2 separate regions of the Homo sapiens genome follow, and region 2 is linked to region 1. The links are contacts of gene promoters, found by promoter capture Hi-C in blood cells and fetal thymus (Javierre and others, 2016). All regions are on one chromosome and are shown on one strand. The core of a region is centred on a gene start or on the middle of the fragment in contact, and the rest is flanking DNA. Distances in the headings are between cores, read along the strand shown. Region 1 holds the start of PSMG1 (proteasome assembly chaperone 1). Region 2 overlaps PIGP (phosphatidylinositol glycan anchor biosynthesis class P).

Evidence for each region. Contacts are between HindIII fragments. The CHiCAGO score rates a contact against its expected background, and 5 or more counts as called.
Region 2: a fragment that was not itself captured here is called in contact with the fragment with the promoter of PSMG1 in region 1 in 1 of 17 cell types (total B cells); the score reaches 6.7 in total B cells.

What each region holds. Positions count from the first base shown.
Region 1 is chr21:39,182,201-39,188,514 of GRCh38, reverse strand. PSMG1 (proteasome assembly chaperone 1) reads left to right here and starts at 5,064. Exons shown (of 7, transcript NM_003720.4): 1 at 5,064-5,263. The coding sequence starts at 5,130. It overlaps BRWD1 (bromodomain and WD repeat domain containing 1), which reads left to right. Exons shown (of 41, transcript NM_033656.4): 41 at 1-3,033. RefSeq lists silencers at 4,889-5,108, 5,309-5,388. The HindIII fragment of the contact is 4,125 bases long and covers 3,252-6,314 here.
Region 2 is chr21:37,065,105-37,071,901 of GRCh38, reverse strand. It overlaps PIGP (phosphatidylinositol glycan anchor biosynthesis class P), which reads left to right. Exons shown (of 5, transcript NM_153682.3): 3 at 2,278-2,350; 4 at 4,522-4,640; 5 at 6,190-6,528. The coding sequence ends at 6,320. Among named protein-coding and RNA genes, the nearest start is that of PIGP, 4.6 kb to the left of the region's middle. The HindIII fragment of the contact is 830 bases long and covers 1,656-2,485 here.

The DNA of each region.
Region 1 (6,314 bases), core at 3,815-6,314:
TGGTGGTTTCATTGCTACAGAATAATAGTGTTACTTGATAGTATCTGACTAAAAGAGCTCTCATTTTCTAGTACTTAGTAGTAAAAAGAATGTGGTGGAGTCCTCCAGATGTCTAGTGTGGGTGGAGGATATCAACTGGTTATTTCAGTGATCTACAGCCTTACCTTTTGAATGCTAAATGTCTGGAAACTTCAGGCAGGGTCCTACAAAACAAACTGCCATCAAGATTGGTGTGTACCATGAAGGCAGTTTTAGATAGTTTGACTGTTCATGGCTGCAAGAAAGACCTAAAATTCAAGGGCCCGTGAACTTCAGATACGTAAAAGGAATATCACTTCTGTTCTAGAAGAGTACTAATTAGACTTGTTTGTGAAATTTGAAAATTTGGCTTTGAGACACTGGTAACAAACATATCTGAGCCCTCCTAAGTTTGGTCAGCACGGAGTAGTAGCTCTGGCATCATGTGGCTGTGTAGAGCTCCAGTGTGATTTCAAGCCCCCTCTAAAAACTGCCTTAGTCTGCATGAAGTAGTTAACTCTCCAAAGTGCTTTTTGTCTGGCAAATCCCTTCACAATTTTCACCTCTCGTCTAAAAGCTTCCTTAAAGGAAGCCTTCCTTGATCCCTTAGGCTAGGTTAGGTTTCCAGTCTGTGTTCTCATAGCACTCTGCACTTTTTGGTTCCTTAAAGCAACTCTGTGTTATTTTTTAGAATTTTAATCTGAATCTCGTGTGTCACATACCTAGGTCAGAAAATACTGGAACAATGAAGTTAAGATTTAGTAATTCAAATTATGTAAAATGCTCATATATATGTTTTTAGATTAGCAGCTTTATGATGCCGATGCTGAAGGAACTTTTCACCCCATTCTTACAAGTCTGCTACTGTTTTAAGTGACATCCTTATAGTTGTAGATAAGCAAATGTAAGGTTATATCAATGTGAAGAAGCCCTTAGTATCACATTTTAAAATTTATCATTTAGCAATATGACTTTTAAATTTATTGTTTCCGAATGAGTGTTGTTGAGGAATGTTAGCAGTAGTAAAATCTTGTGTTACAAGATTTTTGCATTTACATGAACTTTCACTCATTTTTCAGAATTTGTTCCTAGAGACAGAGAACCCAATACAAAAGTGAGAACATGTATGCATAATCAGAAGGATGCAGTGCAGATGCCTAGTGAAACTCTGAAAGCAAAAATGGTACCTGAGAAAGTTCCCCGCAGATGTGCTACTGTTGCTGCAAATAAAATAAAGATAATGAGTAATCTAAAAGAAACGATCTCAGGACCAGAAAATGTCTGGATTAGGAAGAGTAGCAGAAAACTGCCCCATCGAAATGCTTCTGCTGCGGCTAAGAAAAAATTACTGAATGTTTATAAAGAGGATGATACAACCATAAATTCTGAAAGTGAAAAAGAGCTAGAAGATATTAATAGAAAAATGCTTTTTTTAAGGGGGTTCAGATCCTGGAAAGAAAATGCACAATAGTGACTATGAGAATGTAGAAGTGGCATCTGAAAACAATTGGTACACAAGTAAACTGGCAGTTACATTCTGCTCCCAGCTCTAAAATTACTCCCTTATTGGCATCTTTGGAGGAATTTTCTAAAAGCCATAATCCAGTGGGTTCCTCCCAGTCAGCTCTTGTACAGACATGTGCTCTGGGGAATTCTGAGGAGGAAATAAATTGCAGAGTCTGTAGGTGGAGAGGTGGAAAGAAAAGACAAATGGCCTGCTATAAGACTACTATTCCTTTCCAGAATGCAAGGCCTTGAAGACATGATTCCTTAGAGGAAGAATATAATGGGAAGTGTACAGGCTAGGAAGAACTTGAAGTGAACAAATTTCAAAATCTTAACCTGATGCTAATTTTCAGGGTTCTCCATTACAGTGTAAAAATTCAGACCACGACAACTATGGTGTCATGAGGAAAAAAAATCAGGCATTTTTCCAAAGGAAGTGCTAATGGGCCTATTTGACTTCTGAGTGAAGCAAAAACTACCCAGATCCATTCCCTACAATTCACATCCCCAAAGGTCAAAAACAAACTAGGAGGACCTGGGAATTTCAGCTGGAGATACTGATTATTGAGTTCTGAAGTAGAGTGTTGGAAATAGGCAATTAGAGAAAGTCCATTGATGTCATTTTGTTTATAATATTGCAGTTCATACTGAATGACCACTTGATATGACTAATTCAGGGAATATATATTTTTCTATGAAAGCTATGAATGTTACTATCACGGCTTTTCCTTATTTTTACTTGTATGTAGCAGCATTTACAGAAATGCCAAAAATGTGCCTCATTAAGAGGCAGGTCTTAATCAGTTAGATAAAAATAAAATGTATAGCTTAAGATCAAAACAGTCATATTTTTAGATACAGTGAAATCTTTTATGTTTCTCTACAGCACCTTAAAAATTAGAACTTGAATACTTTGAGTAAACTTACTACAATCTCATCCCAACAAACTTTAATGGTAGCATGTTTGGCCTATTTCATTGTGGCCTGTACTAGGATTAGAAAATTTGGTCGTGGTATAACAAAGAAGTGTATTTACAATAGGATTTAATTTGTTGTTAATATGTATTTGTTGAAATTAAAATTGCCAGATTAAATGAATATACTGTCGCATCTTTTTAACATAGTAACGTGTTACTGGAAAAATTAAGTTGTTGAAAGTAAGTTGTTTTCCCATTTAAAAATATCTGAATATATGATTTGCATGTGTAAATCTGAAAAACTAAACTACAGAAACCTAGGGTTTTCTATTTCTTTTTTAAGTCAAATGCATTTTTTTTTTTTTGTTATACAGATGAACCAAGTGTCTAAAATACTTGAGAAATTTGTGGTTGCATGTCTGTTTTAAAAAAAAGGCTTTTTGTTTTTTAGCATAAGCCAGAATATTCTAACCTACTAAGTCTGTGTCCTTTGCTCCTTTTGTAGTATACTTTCATCTAAATTACTGATCCCCAATATGTTGATACACAGGTGAGAAAGGGAAGAATTCCTAATAAACTGCTATTACTTTTAGGTGCATGGGGTTTGATTTTTGAGCTCTAATGAAATGCTTAAACTTCTTTCCAGTTCAAATTTTACACTTAATTTATAATATTTATTGAGTATATTATGTCCTCAACAAGTAACTATAAAATGAAATACTTAACTCGGTGAAGACTATTTTATGCAAAGTTTTTTTTTTTTTTTTTTTTTTTTTTTAGCAATTTCAGTGTAATGAAAGAATTTAAGCTTTGAATTTATAATTTGCTGTGGTGGGGTTAATTTCTGTCAGTATTTGAGATTGTATTATCAGTCTTGCATAATGAAATCCTTTTTTGGCTAAGTATTTAATTCGAACATATTTGCCTTTTTAAAAAGTGCTTGGCCTAAACTTATTGTAACTGCATGAAATAAGCATTTGCTTAAAACTTAACATTGTAAAATTGTTCTCTCTGAAATGTGTGCAGAATTTAAATCATGGCCAAATGTATTACTATTACCCTATTTACAGTAATTTGCTTTGCAGAAAATATTTCTTCATCATGGAACTGTGAAATCAAATTGAAGATCTTACTGGTAAAAATGACAAATTAACAAAAGGACTAAGACAAGTGGTGCCCAAACAACCTTTTTATTCTGCAGTTCCATCATCATAATAGACCAGTTAACCCAGGAGTCCTAATGTTTTAAAACATCATTGTGGTGATCTTGTTTATTCTATCTCACTAAGGATATCCAGTTTCCTAAGCTCTTACTGGCTAGCAATTTCGTCTTAATTTTATTGCTAAATGTTCAAATTTTGCTTCCAAACTCACTTTATTTTTGCAGATGTGTACATCTGCTAAGTACTAATTTTATGTAAATGATTTTGTTGATTATCTTTCCACATCTTAAAATGTTTCTAACAGCTTTGAGATTTTATCTCAACAGGCTCTCTCTGACCCCAAAGTAGTACTTACCTTCGTGACTACTGACAAAGTCACAAAATGCAGGCGATGTCATGTATTTCGGTACAACTAAATCTAGGAAACGGTTTTTTCATTGCATTACTGCATATTTTCATTTTCATTTAAATTATGTCCCCTTTTTCTCTTGCTTGAAACAGTGCTCCTCGAACTTTGTCTTCCAGCACATTTTAAAGAGAACCAATTAAAGAACAATCACACATTCTGCTTATTAAAGGCTATTTAAAAAGAAACATTTTGTATTAGAAAATGGCCAACTTTAAAACACTATTTTTTACACTCATAAAAATGTTTTTTAAATCGCCTTGACAATCATCAGCTTTTGAAATGTGAATTCCTATTGCCAGAGTAAAGGTCTCGTTTTTATACCACCACGAAGCGCTGTATTTCTTGCTGCCCTTGCGTCCGCCCGTGCCCGCTGTCTGAGGGCGCGCCTGGCTACGGGGGCCCTCAGTACCACCGCGCCGCCACCTACCTGGGCAGTCGAAATTTGGAGCGGGTGCTCAGTACACTAATGCTACCCCAGTCTCTCCTAACGCAGAAGGAAAATGGAAACGGACGATGAGGGGACGGCCCCACAGCTCCCGGACGCCACGGCCAGCGGCGCTGGCTCCGCCCCTGCACCCCTGGTTCCGCTACCGCCACGAACGGAGGCCCCGCCCTCCTCTCGCCCCCTGCCCCTCTAGCCCGCAGTCCTCCCACCTCCTGGCGCCCGCAGGGCTCAAGCTGCGAATGAAAGCCTTTGGGGGCCGGACGCGGTGGCTGAGGCCTGTAATCCAAGCACTTTGGGAGGTCTAAGGAGGACGATCGCTAGAGTCCTGGAGTTCGAGACCAGTCTGGGCAACATAGCGAGACCCCCTCCCCCAATCTGTAATTTAAAAACAAAAAAGCTGCGGGGACTGCTGGCCCAGGGCATGACAGCGCGGGCGGGCGGTGTAGAGGGCGTGGCCGCGAGCTCAGGGTGTGCCTGGGAGCGAGCCCTGTGCGGGGCGGGACGTAGCGCCCGCGCGGTGGGGGTGTGGCCGCGAGCTTGGGCTGTGCGCGGAGGGCGTGGCCTGTGCGGGGCGGGACTTATTGCCCGCGCGGTGAGGGAGCGTGGTCTCGCGCAAGCCGGCGTGCGGTCCCGCGGCGCTGCAGTTGTGTCCAGCCGGTCACGGGGCGGCTATGGCGGCCACGTTCTTCGGAGAGGTGGTGAAGGCGCCGTGCCGAGCTGGGACTGAGGACGAAGAGGAGGAGGAGGAGGGGCGGAGGGAGACGCCCGAGGACAGGGAGGTGCGTCTGCAGCTGGCGCGGAAGAGGTGAGGCACCGGGATAAGGGCAGCGCGCTCACCGCAGCTGGAAGGTGCGCGGGCCTGGCAGCCGCGACGGCGCCTAAGGCCGGGGCTCCGCGGTCTTCCGAGTGGCCCCCGCGGTTGCCGCCGCTCCTTGGCTCTGCTTGGGCCCTGGGTCTCCGTGAAGCCGCGGCGTCCAGCGGCGCCAGCCCCAGGTGTGTGTGGTTCTCGCGTGGATCTGCTGGCGTTTCGTGGAGTCCAGGGTGAAGCCGCTGTGGGAGGGCTGGGTTCAAATCCGTTCTTTAAAGGCTTTCTGGAGCGTTTCTGGAGCATTTCTGGAGGCTTGGTGTCTTGCGGACTCGTGATCTTCCCGCTTGTCACACTGTCTTGGGCCGCAGCGCTCCCGCGGGCCCCACCACGTTTGTCGTGGATTGTTCACGGACACACCAATTCCCTCGAAACTTTTTAAACCTGCACCCAACACTTCAATTAGCATGATGTGTCAGTAGCCGATGAACACGCTTTAAAAAAATTGTTTCCAAACACAAAAAAGTGGGAGAAAATAGTCAAGTGAGCCCTGACCCCTACACAACCGGGTAAATTCAACAGGAAGATTTTGCCACGTTTATTTTCTCTCCCGCCACTCCTAAGCGAATTCCAGTCATCATGGCCTTTCACCTCTACATTTTTCAGAATACATCTCAAACGTTTTAGGGATTTTCTTACATATGCTATTATCACCCCTAACAACACTAATACTAATTTTCCAGTATCATTTTGTAGTCCATGCTCACTCACGTTTACCTAGTTTTTTCAAACATGACATTTTACAGTGGTCTGCGTGAATGAGAATCCTAACAGGGTCCACAGGTTACATTTAGACGTGTCACTTCATTTAGAGCAACCTCCTCTTACCCCTCCTAAGAGACAGGACTGATTGTCTTGTCCAGTGCCCCCACACTCTGAATTTGTCTGATAGCTTCGTTGTGGTGTCACTTAACGTTTGTATCACCTGCATGTCCTGTAAAATGAATGTTCATTTGGAGGCTTGGTCAGATTCTCATTCAAAGTTTTGTCG
Region 2 (6,797 bases), core at 821-3,320, 2.1 Mb after region 1:
TAGGCCAGAGAAGTCGGGTTGAAAGGTGTGTCGTTTGCGTCCTGGATCTCCCTTAATTTAACCCCATAACATTCCATTTTACAGATAAGGAGACTGATGCTCACTAAGACACTAATATGCCCACTCACACAGCAAGTCCCAAGTCTCTCCCCAAAATGATTTGAGAATTTTGAGGCACACAAAAGGGAGAAAATTGAGTGCCCGTGATCCAACGTTCTGCAACTGTTTGGAAACCAGGAAAGTGGAGGAGTGGTAGTACTTCTGAACCCTAACTAAAATATATCAGCCTGCACCATCAGCACAGCTTGCAGATGAATGTAATGGCCAGGCTATTAAAACTGAAGTGAAGTGAAGAAGTTACAACTGAGTTCGAATTCTGACTCCTCCACAGATTAGCCATGTGAGCTGGGACCCTCAGCAAATTTTTTGAGCCTCAGGTTCCTTATCTGTAAAAGGGTAGTGATAATGATGGTTATTAAATGCTTATGACGCATGAAACAGTTCTATGGGGTAGGTTCTGTTATTACTGTCCTTTAAAGATGAGCATCCTGTGGTTTCAGTAACTTGCTCAAGATTGCAAAGCTACTAAATAAAAGCCTTCTAAATTTGAACCCAAATACACTGGCTGACTTCACTCTGCTGCCTCTTCTGACTGTTGTGAGGATTAACGGGGGTAATTTATGTAAAGCACGTAAAATAATGCCTAGGAACAGTTAGGGACTTAATAAGTGTTAGCTACTGATGTTATTGTTAGCACTTTTGTAAATCCTTGTTCAAAGAGTATGTCAAGGATTAGAAGCTATATGAATAAATAAAAGCAATCACTTTAAGGCTTAAATTCTGGCCGGCCTGGTGGCTCACGCCTGTAATCCCGGCACTTTGGGTGGCCGAGGCAGGCAGATCATCTGAGGTCGGGAGTTTGAGACCAGCCAGACCAACATGGAAAAACCCTGTCTCTACTAAAAATACAAAATTAGCCGGGATGGTGGCGCATGCCTGTAACTCCAGCTACTCGGGAGGCTGAGGCAGGAGAATCGCTTGAACCCGGGAGGCGGAGGTTGCCGTGAGCTGAGATTGCACTTTTGCACTCCAGCCTGGGCAACGAGCGAAACTGTCTCAAAACAAAATTAAATTCCATCATACCCACAACCAAAAAGTAATTCAAGTATTTATTGGTGCTTACCATGTGCCAGGCACTGTTACAGGCCAGGAAGGACCAAAACAGCCAAAAATGCCCTGCTTTGAGTCTTCATTCTCATGCCGGGGGGAGATAGTCAATGGGCAAGTTAAATAAGAAAAACGTATATAGTATCAGGTGATAACGTACTATGGGGAGAAATTAAGCAAAGGGAAGGAGGATACGAAGTGGAAGGAGGGCCTTCTAATGTGCTTCTATGTCATCTTTTATTACTCATTCGTGAGCACTTGTAACAATGTAGTGAAAATACCAATTTTCTCTATTCACCACTAGATTTTAAGTTTAGGGAGGGCAGAAGCCATCTCTTTTGGATTCAATATTGTGTCTCACACACCTGACATACAGAATTCTGTAATACATATTTGTTAAGAAAAGAATGCATCATCACTGATGTAGTAGGTAGTTAAAATTTATCTTTGCCGCTTACCTTGGGTAGGTGATGTATCCTTTCTAAGCTTCCATTTCCTCATCATTTAAAATTGCATACTTGCCTTGGAGGATTGTCTTGGAGGATTATCTTAATGCATACAGAATGCTTGGAACTGTGCTTAACCCACAGTGAGTGCTCAGAACTTAGCCATTGTTGTTATCGTGGGATAACAGTAAAGAGTGCCGAGATTTCGGATTGAGGGAAATAACATTGTACTCTGGGAGATAGGGCAGAAGCTCAGTATGTGGTGGATGAGAACTAGGGTAGGTAAATTTCCCTTTGAGCAATTAAATGTCTATAATTACTTCAACCTTGTGGGGATGAAGTATTGAACACTTACTGTACCTAAAGCAAACTGCTAGGTAATAAGGATTACAACAATTGCTAAGCCATGATTTGTATCCTTGAATTGCTTAAAATATAATGTGAGTTAAGATATTAAAAAAAAAGACTAATACAGTAATTATAAGTATTATAAGAATTGTGCAAACGAGCTAGAAGAACTGAAAGGAGGAAAAAATCATTTCTGAGTTAATCAGGGACACTTCAAAAGAGCTTTTCTGTTTTATCTGAATCTTAATAGATTGATAGATTAGATGTATGTCTTACTGACTTCTCTTCCTCTTTTTTTTCTTTTTCTTTTCTACAGTACTTTACCTCGTGTGGGCCTTTATTCCTGAATCTTGGCTAAACTCTTTAGGTTTAACCTATTGGCCTCAAAAGTAAGTTTAATATATTTCTTAAATGAGGATATAATTAATGCTGTTTTGAGGAGTCATATCATTTCTTAAACCTACCCAAATCTTAAATATTTGTTCTCTTAAAATTCATGAATAGCCATATAGAAATTGAAAGCTTTTTAAAGATCGCTATTGATACATCTCTAATTAAAGATGGTAGCATGAACACACATGTTTATCTCCATCCATTTCCTCCAAAAATCTTGTTAAAATGACCCTACAGGAAAAAAAAAAAAAACTGAAGATACAAACCACAGAAACAATAGTATAGCAGAAAAGAGATATCAACCACATTTTGGAAAGTGGATTGTGATAGGTGAGAGGTAACTGCCTTTGTTTCTGTGATTTTCACGTTGCTGAAGTAGGGAAGCCAGCAAGAATATTTGTGCCTTAGAACTCCAGAATAGCTCAGACATTGGGGTACCAGGTAGCTCTTTAATTCTGGGTTGAACTGAAAACATGTTTAAAGACCATATGAAGTCTTCAGCCTTCAAATCTCCCTCAGCCCTCAAAGCTGGGAGGCCTGCCCTGCCCTCCCCTGCAGAAAACAGGAGTTTTACTCTCTGGCAAGGTTAAGTAAGAGTCTCTAGCATGGGGGCCACTAAGTCTGAGTGTGGGAATGCGGCATCTTACTGAAAACAGGGAAGTAAGTGAAAATCTACATGGCTTAATGAGAAGATTTACCTCCTGCTCCATCTTCCCTCTTGGGGCTTCGAGGCTTATATCACCCTACTGCTCACAGAAAAAGATAGATAGTTCTTTCCTGAGGAAGCTGACCAGCCCGAGAGAAAGGATCTATAATTTCTGACATTTAGAGGACCCCAGTGAAGTGGCCAAGTCTCTCAGAGTGAGGCTCACCAGTTGACCATCCCTGCCCACATACACATAGTGCTTCCAACTCACTTGTTAGCACTTCATTTTTAAATATGAATGGACTACTCTAAGTTACCAGACATTAAAAGAAAGCCTCTAGCATGAAATGAAAAAGCAGAAAATTAAAGGGAATTTGAAGGAAATAGAGATAATGCAGGAAACAGAAAAAAAAATTTAAATAACATAAAATTCTCAGAGGTAAGAAACAATTATAACTATGAAACAAGAACAGAATGCTATGCAAACAGGAAATTACTGTATTTGGAAATTGTAAACATGATAACCAAAATTAAAATTTTAATTGAAAGACTGGAAAATAAAACAAAGGTAATCTCTAGAAGTTAGAACAAAAAAAAATGAAAATATAAGAAAGTATAATCGTTAAAAATTCAAACTATTAGAAGTTCCAGAAAGAGAAAATAATAGAGAACAAATCATTTAAAAAAAAAAAAACATCTGGCCAACATCTCAAGACCCCATTTCTACAAAAAAATTAAAAATTAGCCAGGTGTGGTGGTGTGTGCCTATAGTCCCAGCTACTTGCAGGGCTGAAGTGAGCTCAGCAGATTGAGGCTAGTGATCTGTGATCATGCCGTTGCACTCCAGCCTGGGTGACAGAGGGAAATGCTTTCTCAAAAAGAAAAAAAAAACACTCAATGAAAAATAGCACTCCATGTACATAATGATACTGAGAGGCATAATAGAGTCCTATCAGAGAATTTGAGGCTCTGGTATTGGTGGATTCCTGGGAAACCAAGTGAACAGACAAAAAGATGTAATTATTCCAGAAAAAAAAAAGTTGTACAAGAAAATATATAATAATAATGTACTAAGATCCTCAGTTGCAAAATTGTTTATGTAGGTACAATTATTTCTAAAACCTGCTGCTATAATGAGAAATTGCAATGTAAGTATAGAAGAGGATAGGAGGAGGTTAATTCCTTATCTCCATATTAGGAAGCCTAGAGAAAATGTCTGTAATGGAAAAAAATGAGGAAATAGTAATATGAGCATGTTTTGTAGCAATGAGGAGGTAAGTACCAGAAGACAGCTCAAGTGCTCAAAGCATTTCTTTTTGGAGAGTGAGACCCCAGGGTTGGGATGGTGGGATAGAGGACTGCAGTTTTTCACTGTAAGCCTTGTGGAACTATTTGTCTCTTATGTACACATATTACTTTATAAAATTTAAATTTAAAAAACATGTTGGCTTTGTGACCGACTCTTGAGAATTACAACTTTTTTAAAGTGTCTATTATGTACTTTAATATTCTCTTTGGCAGATATTGGGCAGTTGCATTACCTGTCTACCTCCTTATTGCTATAGTAATTGGCTACGTGCTCTTGTTTGGGATTAACATGATGAGTACCTCTCCACTCGACTCCATCCATACAATCACAGGTAACTTTATATAAAAGGAAAGTGCTGGGGCAATGAAAGAGTGGAGTATTAGCACTTTTACCCAGAAAAGCAACAAAGAACAGGCTGCAAAACCCATGTTGGTGGTGCGCGTCTGTAATCCCAGCTACTTGGGAGGCTGAGGCAGGAGAATCACTTGAACCCAGGAGGCAGAGGTTGCAGTGAGCCAAGATCCCACCACTGTACTCCAGCTTGGGTGACAAGAGTGAAACTCCATCCTAAAAGAAAACACACACACACACACACACACACACACACACACACACACACACGGACAGTAAAAAGAAGCTACTAAGAGAAATAAATACAAACTTATATAAAAGGAAATATTTGCATGAAGGAATTAAGTTCTGATGAATACACACTAGCTATATTCATGGAGGAAATAAATTATAATTAATTATAGCACTGGTTAGCAGGTGTATGTTCCCATAAAAACCACAAGTATATGCTATATGTGTCTATAATATGTTCCCATTAACTTTGCCTGAGAGAAGCTTATCCTGAACAGACACCGTTGATCAAGGGATAGTAAATAGTACATGCAGACCTTGTTCAGAAAAAGGACTTTGGGGGTGTGTATCCTCCTCAGGATCATTGTGTACTCCTTATTCCAATTAAGTGGATAAAAGAGCCACAACACGTTCGTCTGGTTTTATTTTTTTAAAGTTCTTTCAAGTCTAAAGATGAAAATAAATCAGACTCCTGAGCTTGCTTAAATTCTAGAAAGTAAAGTATTTTTTAAGTTCCCTGGTATGATTTTTCAACTTTTCAAAACCTTTATATATTAGCCTCTACAATGTATTTTGAAAATCAATTCTATTATTTTTAAGTGTCTTTCTAATACACTGCATTCCATGCATTCTTGATTGGAATTGGCAGCAAATAGGTAATTTGTGCAAAGAGGGGAAATTGTTAAGATTGCATGAATATTTATACCAAATGATTTAATAGTTTTGCCATGTTGATTTAAATACATTTTCAAGGCCTGGATATAATTCTGTTCCCGTGAGAAATGTGCAAATGAGACTTTAATCATCATTGTATGGTTGATTAAAATATTGATTTCTTTCCAAGTTAGAGATGAAAAAAGTACTTTACTGATGTTTTTATTTTTTTATTTTTATTTATTTATTTATTTATTTTTTATTTTTTATTTTTGAGATGGAGTCTCGCTCTGTCACCCAGGCTGGAGTGCAATGGCGCAATCTCGGCTCACTGCAGGCTCCGCCCCCTGGGTTCACGCTGTTCTCCTGCCTCAGCCTCCCGAGTAGGTGGGACTACAGGCGCCCGCCACCTCACCAGGCTAATTTTGTGTGTTTGTGTTTTTAGTAGAGACAGGGATGTTTTTATTTTAATTGGGACATTTCTTCTAAAGAGAGGATTTAAGTAATCATCTAATTATGTTAAACATGATGTTTGTCACTATCCAAACGTCAGCCTAGTAAACTATGTGGTGGGTCTCCATCAGACACAGAGACTGTAGAAGAAATTGCTTAGGTAAACAGAGCTTTTTGGTCTTTTCTTACAGATAACTATGCAAAAAATCAACAGCAGAAGAAATACCAAGAGGAGGCCATTCCAGCCTTAAGAGATATTTCTATTAGTGAAGTAAACCAAATGTTCTTTCTTGCAGCCAAAGAACTTTACACCAAAAACTGAACTGTGTGTAACCATAGTAACACCAAGCACGTATTTATTTATAAGTTTTTGCCATTATAATTTTGACCATAAATTAATTTGACCATCTCTCTTATTAATAGAGAAGTAAAAAATGTAAGTTGACCTTCTCTTAGATTATGTTCAATGAATATTGTAAATGTTCAAGTATTGTTAATGAATAGAATAAATACAATATTGCATTCCCATATAGCAGACTTAAAAAAAAAAATCAATGTCAGTATAATCAAGAAGTTCCTCCAGAGAGGCATTTATATTGTAATTTGCAAAGGGCAATGATGTCCTTCCTCCTGTTTGTCCTGAGGGGCCCAGAATTCAAACCCTTAGTTTTTGGGAAGGGTACAGTTAGTACTTGTGCCATCAGATTCATGTCTAAGACACAAATATTTGTTGAGTACTCACTGTGTACCAGGTATTTTTCTAGGCACTGAGGATGAAGTAATGGTAAGATTCTCTCTC